Linked DNA regions of Homo sapiens: regions 1 and 2 are each linked to region 3. Evidence: promoter capture Hi-C in 16 types of primary human blood cells and fetal thymus (Javierre and others, 2016). All regions are on one chromosome and are shown on one strand. Each heading gives the region's core, a stretch centred on a gene start or on the middle of the fragment in contact. The rest is flanking DNA. Distances are from core to core; before and after follow the strand shown. Region 1 holds the start of RABL6 (RAB, member RAS oncogene family like 6). Region 2 holds the start of TMEM141 (transmembrane protein 141). Region 3 holds the start of ENTPD8 (ectonucleoside triphosphate diphosphohydrolase 8).

Region 1 (3,324 bases), core at 825-3,324, 630 kb after region 3:
TTTTTATTCAAAATGCACCACTTTATTTTCCTTACCAGACAGCCAAGCATTAAGCACGTTCCAGTCACGTGACTTCTTCAGCGAGCCCCCAGGCTTCCACTCCACGGGAGTCTGGGAGCTCCTGGACAGAGGAGTCCTGAGATTTCAAATAGTCAAGCCTTCTCCCCAGCCACAAGTTCCTTTGATGCTTGGGTTACTGAACACAAACGCAATGGATTGTTTGTCTTCAACATAATCCGTTTCTGTTCCTAAACGTGTTGGCTGCGCTTTCTTTCTGATGAGCACGCTGACTCTAATTTGAACTTCATCAAAATCTTCTTTGTCGTCGTATGTTCTAGAGTATAAGAAAAGCCAATACGGCCCTTGGTTCGGACATCAACTTTCTTTTAAATTTTTTTTTCGTATTTTTAGTAGAGACGGTGTTTCACTATGTTGGCCAGGCTGGTCTCGAATTCCTGACCTCGTGATCTGCCCGCCTTGGCCTCCCAAAGTGCTGGGATTACAGGCATGAGCCACCGTGCCCGGCCCGGACACCAACTTTCATACCTAGATGCTCAGACTTATCTTTAAGAAGTTGTTTTATCTTGCTTACTGCTAAAGGTGTCTGGGTGAGGGTGGCCCGAGTGGTCTGCAGCTTCCTCTTGCTCACAGGCCGGGGGACTAAGGAAGGCGACATCTTCACTGTCCTCCTGGACTAGCTCCAGCCCCAGGAACTACGGCCTCTCTCCGTGCACACGGCACGCGAATTCATGAACTTGCTTTTAAACCTGCACAAGAGTCTTTCTGATCATTAGTTCTTAAAATTCTACATTACCATGGAAATATCACGGAGGCTCTAAGGCTCCCCTTAAAGTGACCAAAAAACTGGATAGGCGTAGCGTCCTAAAACCTCATAGAAACATACGGAAATGGCTAAGAGGGAAGCAATGTCAAAACAGGGAACCACATAAAAGCTTTCAAAAACTACTGGGAAAGAGCCCGCAAGATGGAAAAACTCATAAGAGGTCGAGGACAATTTACACAATTTATAACAAAGGAATGGAGCGTCCCAGGCACTCAGGAGTCCGTAAATGACTCCTCCTTCCTACGAGAAATGGGATGTCTCCTACAGTCGCAAGTCAGCCCGTGCCTTCTGGAGCTTTTCTAGATACGTCTCTTACAAACGCTTCTTTTAAAAAAAAAGGCGAGAATGTGTGGCGTAGCTAATATTCTGTCTTCAAACTCAGTAGGAAGTCAACAAAGAAAAATCCCGCTGAAAGCGCCAAGGCCGGCTGGGTTCCCCGCACCTCCTGCAGGTGAGTGGTGCCCGGGGCTGGGCACCGTGGAGCGTCGGGGGCGCGGCGCCCCGGGCCGGCGGGCCCTGCTTGGCATTATGTAATCACCCCCGGGCCGGGCAGCCGGGCCAACCCCGCCGCCGCCGACCCGCTCCACTGCACAGCGCGGCGGGAGCGACACGCGGCAGGCGAGTGCGGCTGGGAAACGACCCGCGGCTCGGGGGCCGCGAGGACCCGGCCCTGGCCTGGCCTCTCCTCGCGTCCCCTGGCCCGCGCCCCCGCTCCCGGAGCGCCCGGCGGGCCCAGCGCACCCCACAACCGGCAAGCAGGTGAGACCGACACCCACCACCGCGCGGCGCCCGGGGCCTGGGTTCGGAGACCCGCGCGGCGCTCCCGCGCCCCCCCGGCCCGCCGCACTCACTGTTGTACTGCACCCCCTTGGCGAAGCGCCTCTGCAACGCCTGGTTCATGGACTGCAGCCCGGCGGGGATGTTCTTGTCCCGGCCCGGGGCCTGGTCCGACCCCACCAGCTTCTTCAGGGCGGAAAACATCTTCCCGCTCGGACGTCCCAGCCCGGGCGCGGCCGGCGAGCTCAGCGGCGGCGGGGAAGGGGTGCGACTGGCACCATGTCCCGGCGGCCCCGGCCCCCCCGGAGGCCGGAGCCGGCGCGGCCAGAGGCCGGGGTCCCGGCGGCGGAGCGCAGCCCCGAGCGGCGACTCGGGAACCTCAGCCGCGGCTGCTCCGCTCCGGCCCCCGCGGCCTCCGGCGCGACCGCTCTCCAGGAGTCAGCGCCGCCATCTTGGCGCCGGCTCGGCGGGACGGGAGGGGTGCGCGGCTACGGGGCGCCGCGAGGGCCGCGGGGGCGCGGCGCGCGCGGTCGGCGCATGCGCACGCGGTTCTGGCGCGCAGTTCCGGGCCCGGGCTGCCTCCTTACGCAGAACCTCCCCCGATCCTGCGTGTCCCGTGCTCCTCTCCGAGACCCCGGTCGCCCCAGCGTCCGCAGCAGTCCTGGAAAAATGTTTATTTGTGTAGCAAAGCAGGGAGCGGGGCGGCGGGGCTACTTCTTCTTTTTCTTGGCCGCCTTGAGCTTCCCCTCGATTAGCCGCTGCGCCTGCCTCTTGATCTCGGCGCGCGAAGGGACGTAGCTGTGGTCCATGTCGGGGAACTGGAAGGTGTCTGCGGGCGGAGGCGGCGGCTCGCACACGGGGCTAGCCCAGCTAGGCGCAGCCGCCCGACCCGCCTCTCGCCCCCGCCCTCCACCGACCCGGGCCAGGTGCCTTGCCCCAGGGACAGCCCCAGCGTGCCGGGAGGACTCAGCCCAGCCCATTCGCAGCGGCTCACGCTGCCCTGCCTAGCCTTTCCCGCAGAACCCCCAGTGGAAGCTCCGGCCCAGGCCTTCACCGCGCTCCTCCCTGCTCCAGCCCTGGTGCCTCTCCTCCGGGCCCGTCTGGCATGGCATGCCTCCTCCTTTCGGAGAAATTAACAAGGTATTTCAGTGGCTTTAGCCTCCCCATGGCATCACTAAGTCACCTCCATCAATTAAAGTCCTGCAGGTACAACTGATGCACCCTGTAGCCCCGCTGTCCCTCCAGGATGTCCCGGTGGGATGGGAGCCGGCGCCACCCCGACCTGTGTTCCAGCCACCCGCCTGCAGCCCGGGCCCCAGTTCCGGGGCCTGTACCGATCATATCCTCCTCCCGGTTCTCAAAGCTGATCCTGGTGTTGTACTTCTCCATCAGAGTCGAGGACTCCAGGGTGTCCCTCACCTTTGTGTCGCCCTGCAGGGCAAAGCCCCCTTCAGCCGTGCAGACACTCTGAACGGGAGCCTGTCAGCTTTGAGGGGACGTGGGCTGTGCAGGTTCCTCCCAGCCCGGGGCTACCTCCTCGGTCCTGGACACCATCTGCACTCTGTCAGCCAGGTACGTGAGCTTCCCCTCGCAGTACGCCAGCTTGCTGTTCAAATCGAGGGTGTTGGAGAGCACCACTTCTCTCTGTAGGCCGGGAGGAGGGTCTCATCTCCCCTCTGGCCCTGCCCAGGGACCTGGTGTGT
Region 2 (3,402 bases), core at 312-2,811, 650 kb after region 3:
GGTCAGGGGGCATGAAGGCTGTGTTCCAGACTCCTCCTGCCCCCAATCCTCTGTGCCCCTGCTGGAGCTCTCCTAGCTTCTCTGATCTGTAAAAGGCAAAGAGAGACAAGCTCGAACCACATCCATCGTGGCTGGGCATCCCTGTGCCCATTTTATCATGGCAGAAACTGGGTTCCGTAACAAGGACAACGGGCAGTGGAGGCCAGGCCTGGGTCCAATGCGGGGCTTCTCAGTCCAGCCTCACTCCTCTCGGGTGCCCACGTGGCTGCTGTGGCCTTGCCACACCCTTCACTCTGCACCCTTCCTCTCAATCTCAGGGGCACCCCAGCCCCTCTTGGTTCTTTCTCCTCAAAGGGAGCTCTCCAAGATCTGTCTACTGCGCCCACCCCCAGCTCCAACCCATCTGGCAGTCACATGCTGAGGAGGCCGGGCCAGAGGGAGGGACCTTGTCTAGCCTATCGCATGGTGCACCCAGGCTTGGCTGCCCAAAACTCTGGGTGCTGGAGAGGTGGCATTCACTTCTCGCTAACCCCCAGGCTCTCTCACCTGTGCTCCTGTCTTTGGGGAGCTGCCCGGTCTCCAGGAAGAGCCAGAGGTTGTTGCATTTCTCCGACTCCACTCTCGTCACCCCGTAGCTGACCACAGAGCCTGCAACTGTGGAGCAGGAAATGGAAGAGGGCTGGGGCCTCTGTGCTTCCCAGGCTAAGAGAACCGGGCACAGGCTACTTCCTGACAGACGTGGTGGGTGGGCTCAGGTGGGGCTCCCGCCGAGACCTGGGGCTCCATGTCAGAGTCAGGGACGCAGAACCACAGCCCCAACCCTAGCAGAAACCCACCCCTCAAAGAGCCCAGGCAGGGGCCCTGGAGTACCCACCCACGGCCACTAGGAGGCTCCACTGCAAAGGGTATGGAAACTTCCTCTGAATGAACATCTGCAAGCCAAAGGCCATGCCGGTGCCTGCAAAGAGCCGAGGTCCCCATCAACCTGTACCCGGGGATAGCCAGGGCCCACCTTGCCAGGCCCCCAGCACCTGCGGGCAGGTGACTTGGCGCCCCCTGCTGGGGAGTCAGGGCAGGGCGGGAGGGTGCGTTCTCTCCCAGCCGCAGGACACCTGGACGCAGCCTACCTGTGACGAAGGTGAAAACGCCCTTCATGAAGGCGTGTGACTGGCATGCGGCATACTCCCCGAGTCCCTGGGGTGGCAGAGGCGGGTGAAGGCTCGATCCCCTGCCCTCTTCCTTCACCGCCTCTCCTGTCCCTCCTCTGGGCACACCCTGGCTGTGGAGGAGTGAGACCCTGGGCGCTTGGACACGTCCCACCTCCCCTATGCCCACCCGGACGCCCTGAGCCCCTTAGCAAGAGAGTGCCCCCAGCCTCCGCCACTCTTCCCTGACGAGGGCACCCCCACGCCCCGGCCCCCCGCCTCGCTCAGGTCAGCTTCTGGGGTTTGAGGCCCGCGTCCCAGACCGGCCTTCTCACCGGGTGCTTGGCAGCCACGGCGTCGTCCACCCGGGACAGACCCAAGTTCACCATGGTTGGCAGGGCTCGGGGAGCGGGCCTGCGCAGGCGCAGGCGGAAGGGCGGGACGGGAACCTGGGGGTGTGGCCCAGAGGACAGGCCTGCGCAGTTACGGACGGAGGGGCAGGGCCCGGATCTGGGGGCGAGGCCTAGGGACCGGCCCGCGCTGGAACAGGCGGAGGGGGCGGGGCCTAGGAGACGGCGCCTGAGGGCGGGTCCGCGCGGCAGCAGGCGGAGGGGGCGGGACCTGGGAGACGTGATCTGGGGGCGGGGCCTGAGAGACGGGACTTTGGAGACGCGACCTGGGGGCGGGGCCTGAGAGACAGGACCGGGGAGCGGGCCTGCGCAGGCGGAGGTGTCGGGTTCTAAGAGGCGGGTCCTGCCGGGTGCAGGCGGAGGGGCCAGGGCCTTGGATTGGGGGCGGAGCATGGATCGAGCCTGCTAGAGCGCAGGGGAGAGGGGTGGGGCCTGGGGCCTGGCCACGCCTCTAGGAGCTTGGGCCCTGTGACCTCCGGCGACGACTGGGCGGGGCGAAGGCGGGCACCGGGCGGGGCGTGGCTGAGAGCGTGCGCTCCTCCCCCCGGCCGGGCCTCATTCCCACACTTGCAGAGGCCTGATGATTGTCAGTGTTATTTTGCTTGAGGACTACAATCAGGGATTGAATTTCTCATAAGCCACCACGGAGTGGGGATGTATAAAATCACTGTTTAGCAAAGTGGTTCTGTAACCAGCAGCTTAGTAGCTGAGCCTCAAACTCCTTTTGTTTTGCATGACAAAGAGTCTTTACTTTCAAATAATTATCGATACACCAAGTAATAACATGTACAAGTTCTTGAATTCTATCATCTAGTAATTTTGATTAAGAGAAACTAAAATCAGCCCAAACAATTCCACTAGTATTCACTGGTGTAACCATTAGCAAGAACGGAGGACTTCAAGTCAGGCTGCTGCTTCACACAGGTTACAAATAACTATTTACTACTTTTTCATCGATAAAGTCCCTGATCTTCAAGAAAGTGCTAGGGAAAAAAATTAACCCCTTCCTTTCTTCAAAGAATTATTATGTGGTTTTTTTTTTTAAACTAGATCAAAGAAAGAAAAAGTCAACACTGATATACGTGTTGCTTGAGCCAAAAGGCATGGGAAAAAAGACAACATATAACCATTAAATTCCTAAGAAATATGAGGTAAAAAGATGAAATCTTGGCCAGGTGCGGTGGCTTACGCCTGTAATCCCAGCACCTTGGGAGGCCGAGGCAGGTGGATCACAAGGTCAGGAGTTAAATACTAGCCTGGCCAAGATGGTGAAACCCCGTCTCTACTAAAAATACAAAAATTAGCCGGGCGTGGTGGCAGGTGCCTATAATCCCAGGTACTGGGGAGGCTGAGGCAGGAGAATCACTTGAACCTGGGAGGTGGAGGTTGCAGGGAGCCAAGATCGTGCCACTGCACTCCAGCCTGGGCGACAGAGTGAGACTCTGTTTCAAAAAAAAAAAAAAGGCTGAAGTCTTTAGATAATTTATAAGTCTGTACAAAAAAGCTAGATTTGCTACTCTTCAAAATGTGGAAGGACCTACTCTATAATATATGGAAATAATTTAATGCCATTTGTGGGGAAAAGAGAGATCAGACTGTTACTGTGTCTGTGTAGAAAAAGGAAGACATAAGAAACTCCATTTTGATCTGTACTAAGAAAAATTATTCTGCTTTGAAATGCTGTTAATCTGTAACCTTAGCCCCAACCCTGTGCTCACAGGAACATGTGCTGTATTGACTCAAGGTTTAGGGGATTTAGGGCCGTGCAGGATGTGCCTTGTTAACAATGTGTTTGCAGGCAGTACGCTTGGTAAAAGTCATCACCATTCTCCATTCTCCATTAACCA
Region 3 (3,226 bases), core at 1-2,500:
TAGCCTGGGTGACAGAGCGAGACTCCATCTCAAAAAAAAAAAAAAAAAAGGACAACTTCCCAGACTCATTTTATAAGCCCAGCATTATCCCCATACAGAAACCAGGACTAAAAAAGAAAACTATGCAACTTTGTTGAACACAACTGCAAAAATCCTCAACAAACACATTTGACTCTTATGACCCATGGCAGCTAGTGTATAAAGTTGCTGCAAACACTGAATTAAAGAATATGCTAAACTATTGCTCCTAAGGGAAATGCAAAGTTCTGTTCCTGCAAGCTTCTGGTCACATTTTTGTTAAATGATCAATATATTAATAAAACCTTCTTTTATGTGTATTTTTGTTTAAGGGCACCTTACTTAATATGTATTGTATCACTAACATTGAACTCATGGCCAACAGCGCTAACTCTTGCACGAATGAAGCTTATCCAATGTGTGTTTTCTCTGTAAAGTGCATCTCAGCCTTCTTGCATTTCTGCACTATGCTGAGACGCCATTATAAACAGTGAAATCACCAAGAAAAAGCACAAAAATGCACACACATGACACCAAATATGCTACCAGTAAAGAGAGTCCCGATTGAGACCCCAAGAGGGTTCTTGGATCTCACACAGAAAGGAATTCACCGCCCCCCCGCATTCCCCCACCCTATTCCCCGCCCCCCAACACCCCCAGCCCCACCCAGCCCGGCCCTGGCTCCGCGCCTCCCCCAGCCCCGCCCCGCTTCAGAGGCCCGGACCCCGACGGCGGCGGCCCCGGGACCCACGGCGAGCGGGAAAGGCAGAGTGGCTGCAAATGGAAAACGACGGGCGCCGCGGGGCTGCAGGCGCTTCCGCCCCCGCCCCGGGCCTGGACCTTCGGGGTCACCTGACTCCGACCTGCCCGGGCCGGGCGGCACGGGGGGTAAAGTCCGGGCCGGGGTCAGGAGCGCGGCTGCGGGCCGTGGGGGGCGGGGTCCCGGAGTTCTGCCCCTCGCAGCTCCAGGCTCCTCCTCAGCTTCCCTCTCCTGCCTCCCACCCCCCCGGGGGCGGGGCGACCCTGGGCACCGAGACAGACCCGCGGGTGGGAGATGCGGGGAGACCCTGGGCGGGGGACCCGAGGGTGGAGTGGGCGGGGCGACCTTGGGCGCTGGCCTCAGCCTGCGGGCCCTGGAGCCAGGTGCACAGCGCATCGCCCGAGGCTGTCACCGCCCTGCCCCGCCCACCCCAGCTGTCCTGGACCCAGGGGCAGGGAGAGGCTGGACGCCAGGTGCGCGGACACAGAAGCGTCTAAGCACAGCTTCCTCCTTGCCGCTCCGGGAAGTGGGCAGCCAGCCCAGGTGAGGGTCCAAAGGGATGTCCTGGGGGGGCTGTCCTGGTCTGGGGGGCTGTCCTGGTCTGGGGGGCTGTCCTGGTCTGGGGGGCTGTCCTGGTCTGGGGGGGCTGTCCTGGTCTGGGGGGCTGTCCTGGTCTGGGGGGGCTGTCCTGGTCTGGGGGACTGTTCTGTCTGAGGGGGTGTCCTGGTCTGGGGGGGCTGTCCTGGTCTGGGGGGCTGTCCTGGTCTGGGGGGCTGTCCTGGTCTGGGGGGCTGTCCTGGTCTGGGGGGGCTGTCCTGGTCTGGGGGGCTGTCCTGGTCTGGGGGGGCTGTCCTGGTCTGGGGGACTGTTCTGTCTGAGGGGGTGTCCTGGTCTGGGGGGGCTGTCCTGGTCTGGGGGGCTGTCCTGGTCTGGGGGGCTGTCCTGGTCTGGGGGGGGCTGTCCTGGTCTGGGGGGCTGTCCTGGTCTGGGGGGGCTGTCCTGGTCTGGGGGGCTGTCCTGGTCTGGGGGGGCTGTCCTGGTCTGGGGGACTGTTCTGTCTGAGGGGGTGTCCTGGTCTGGGGGGGCTGTCCTGGTCTGGGGGGCTGTCCTGGTCTGGGGGGGCTGTCCTGGTCTGGGGGGGGCTGTCCTGGTCTGGGGGGCTGTCCTGGTCTGGGGGGGCTGTCCTGGTCTGGGGGGCTGTCCTGGTCTGGGGGGGCTGTCCTGGTCTGGGGGACTGTTCTGTCTGAGGGGGTGTCCTGGTCTGGGGGGCTCTCCTGGTCTGGGGGGGGCTGTCCTGGTCTGGGGGGCTGTCCTGGTCTGGGGGACTGTTCTGTCTGAGGGGGTGTCCTGGCCTGGGGGGCTCTCCTGGTCTGGGGGGGGGCTGTCCTGGTCTGGGGGGCTGTCCTGGTCTGGGGGGGGCTGTCCTGGTCTGGGGGCTGTCCTGGTCTGGGAATCTGTTCTGTGTGAGGGGGTGTCCTGGTCTGGGGGGCTCTCCTGGTCTGGGGGGGGCTGTCCTGGTCTGGCGGGGGCTGTCCTGGTCTGGGGGGCTGTCCTGGTCTGGGGGGCTGTCCTGATCTGGGAGTCTGTTCTGTGTGAGGGGGTGTCCTGGTCTGGGGGGGCTGTCCTGGTCTCAGGGACTGTTCTGTGTGAGGGGATGTCCTGGCCTGGGGGACTCTCCTGGTCTGGGGGGGCTGTCCTGGTCTGGGGGGGCTGTCCTGGTCTGGGGGGCTGTCCTGGTCTGGGGGGGCTGTCCTGGTCTGGGGGACTGTTCTGTCTGAGGGGGTGTCCTGGTCTGGGGGGCTCTCCTGGTCTGGGGGGGGCTGTCCTGGTCTGGGGGGCTGTCCTGGTCTGGGGGACTGTTCTGTCTGAGGGGGTGTCCTGGTCTGGGGGGCTCTCCTGGTCTGGGGGCACTGTCCTGGTCTCGGGGGGGCTGTTCTGGTCTGGGGGGCGCTTTCCTGGTCTGAGGAGCTGTTCTGATCTGGGAGGCTGTTCTGGTCTTGGGGGTCTTTTGAGTGTGGGAGAGGTTGCCCCAACCTCTTTGCCTACCTGGAGGCTCAGGCCTGGGGGTCTCAGGTGGCTACATCTTCTGGGTGTGGAGTCCCTGTGTTCCTGGCCCCTGTCACCTGTTTGTCCCTATGAGGTGGCCTATGGCCTGGGTGCTGGTTGGGGACACAGGCTGGGCCCTGTCTGGGCTGGACCGGCCTCCTGTCCTCTCTGAGCCTCTGTCATCTACCCTCCTTAAAATGGGCTTATATCCCCCGGACATACAGAATTGCGTGAGGACCCCACAGCGTGTCCCACTTTCCACGTGCCCAGGAGCCCCAGGTCAGGACCAGGGCAGCACCCGCGCCTGCCACTCAGTGTGGGTGCAACGTTTCCCGGGGGAACACGATAGGACACGGTCACATGGGGTTCAGGTGCCGGGACCTTGGCAGGCAGCCTCTGGCT

Evidence for each region. Contacts are between HindIII fragments. The CHiCAGO score rates a contact against its expected background, and 5 or more counts as called.
Region 1: a contact is called between the fragment with the promoter of RABL6 here and the fragment with the promoter of ENTPD8 in region 3, in 3 of 17 cell types (total CD4 T cells, erythroblasts and neutrophils). The highest score is 7.5, in total CD4 T cells.
Region 2: the fragment with the promoter of TMEM141 here is called in contact with the fragment with the promoter of ENTPD8 in region 3 in 5 of 17 cell types (naive B cells, total B cells, activated CD4 T cells and 2 more); the score reaches 7.8 in naive B cells.

What each region holds. Positions count from the first base shown.
Region 1 is chr9:136,806,698-136,810,021 of GRCh38, reverse strand. It overlaps RABL6 (RAB, member RAS oncogene family like 6), which reads right to left and starts at 2,074. Exons shown (of 15, transcript NM_024718.5): 1 at 1,696-2,074. The coding sequence starts at 1,825. It overlaps CCDC183 (coiled-coil domain containing 183), which reads right to left. Exons shown (of 14, transcript NM_001039374.5): 12 at 3,155-3,265; 13 at 2,956-3,052; 14 at 2,281-2,450. The coding sequence ends at 2,332. It overlaps CCDC183-AS1 (CCDC183 antisense RNA 1), which reads left to right and starts at 1,174. Exons shown (of 5, transcript NR_024580.1): 1 at 1,174-1,295; 2 at 2,820-3,193. It also overlaps the pseudogene LOC100422233. RefSeq lists silencers at 1,263-1,792, 1,803-1,932, 1,953-2,012, 2,063-2,232, 2,433-2,662 and enhancers at 1,938-2,534, 2,535-3,130. The HindIII fragment of the contact is 3,360 bases long and covers 956-3,324 here.
Region 2 is chr9:136,789,503-136,792,904 of GRCh38, reverse strand. TMEM141 (transmembrane protein 141) reads right to left here and starts at 1,561. Exons shown (of 5, transcript NM_032928.4): 1 at 1,481-1,561; 2 at 1,128-1,194; 3 at 875-958; 4 at 547-654; 5 at 1-86. The coding sequence starts at 1,534. The coding sequence ends at 73. RefSeq lists a silencer at 1,135-2,174. The HindIII fragment of the contact is 4,968 bases long and covers 1-3,402 here.
Region 3 is chr9:137,439,381-137,442,606 of GRCh38, reverse strand. It overlaps ENTPD8 (ectonucleoside triphosphate diphosphohydrolase 8), which reads left to right and starts at 1,250. Exons shown (of 10, transcript NM_001033113.2): 1 at 1,250-1,321. RefSeq lists a silencer at 1,096-1,390. The HindIII fragment of the contact is 13,084 bases long and covers 429-3,226 here.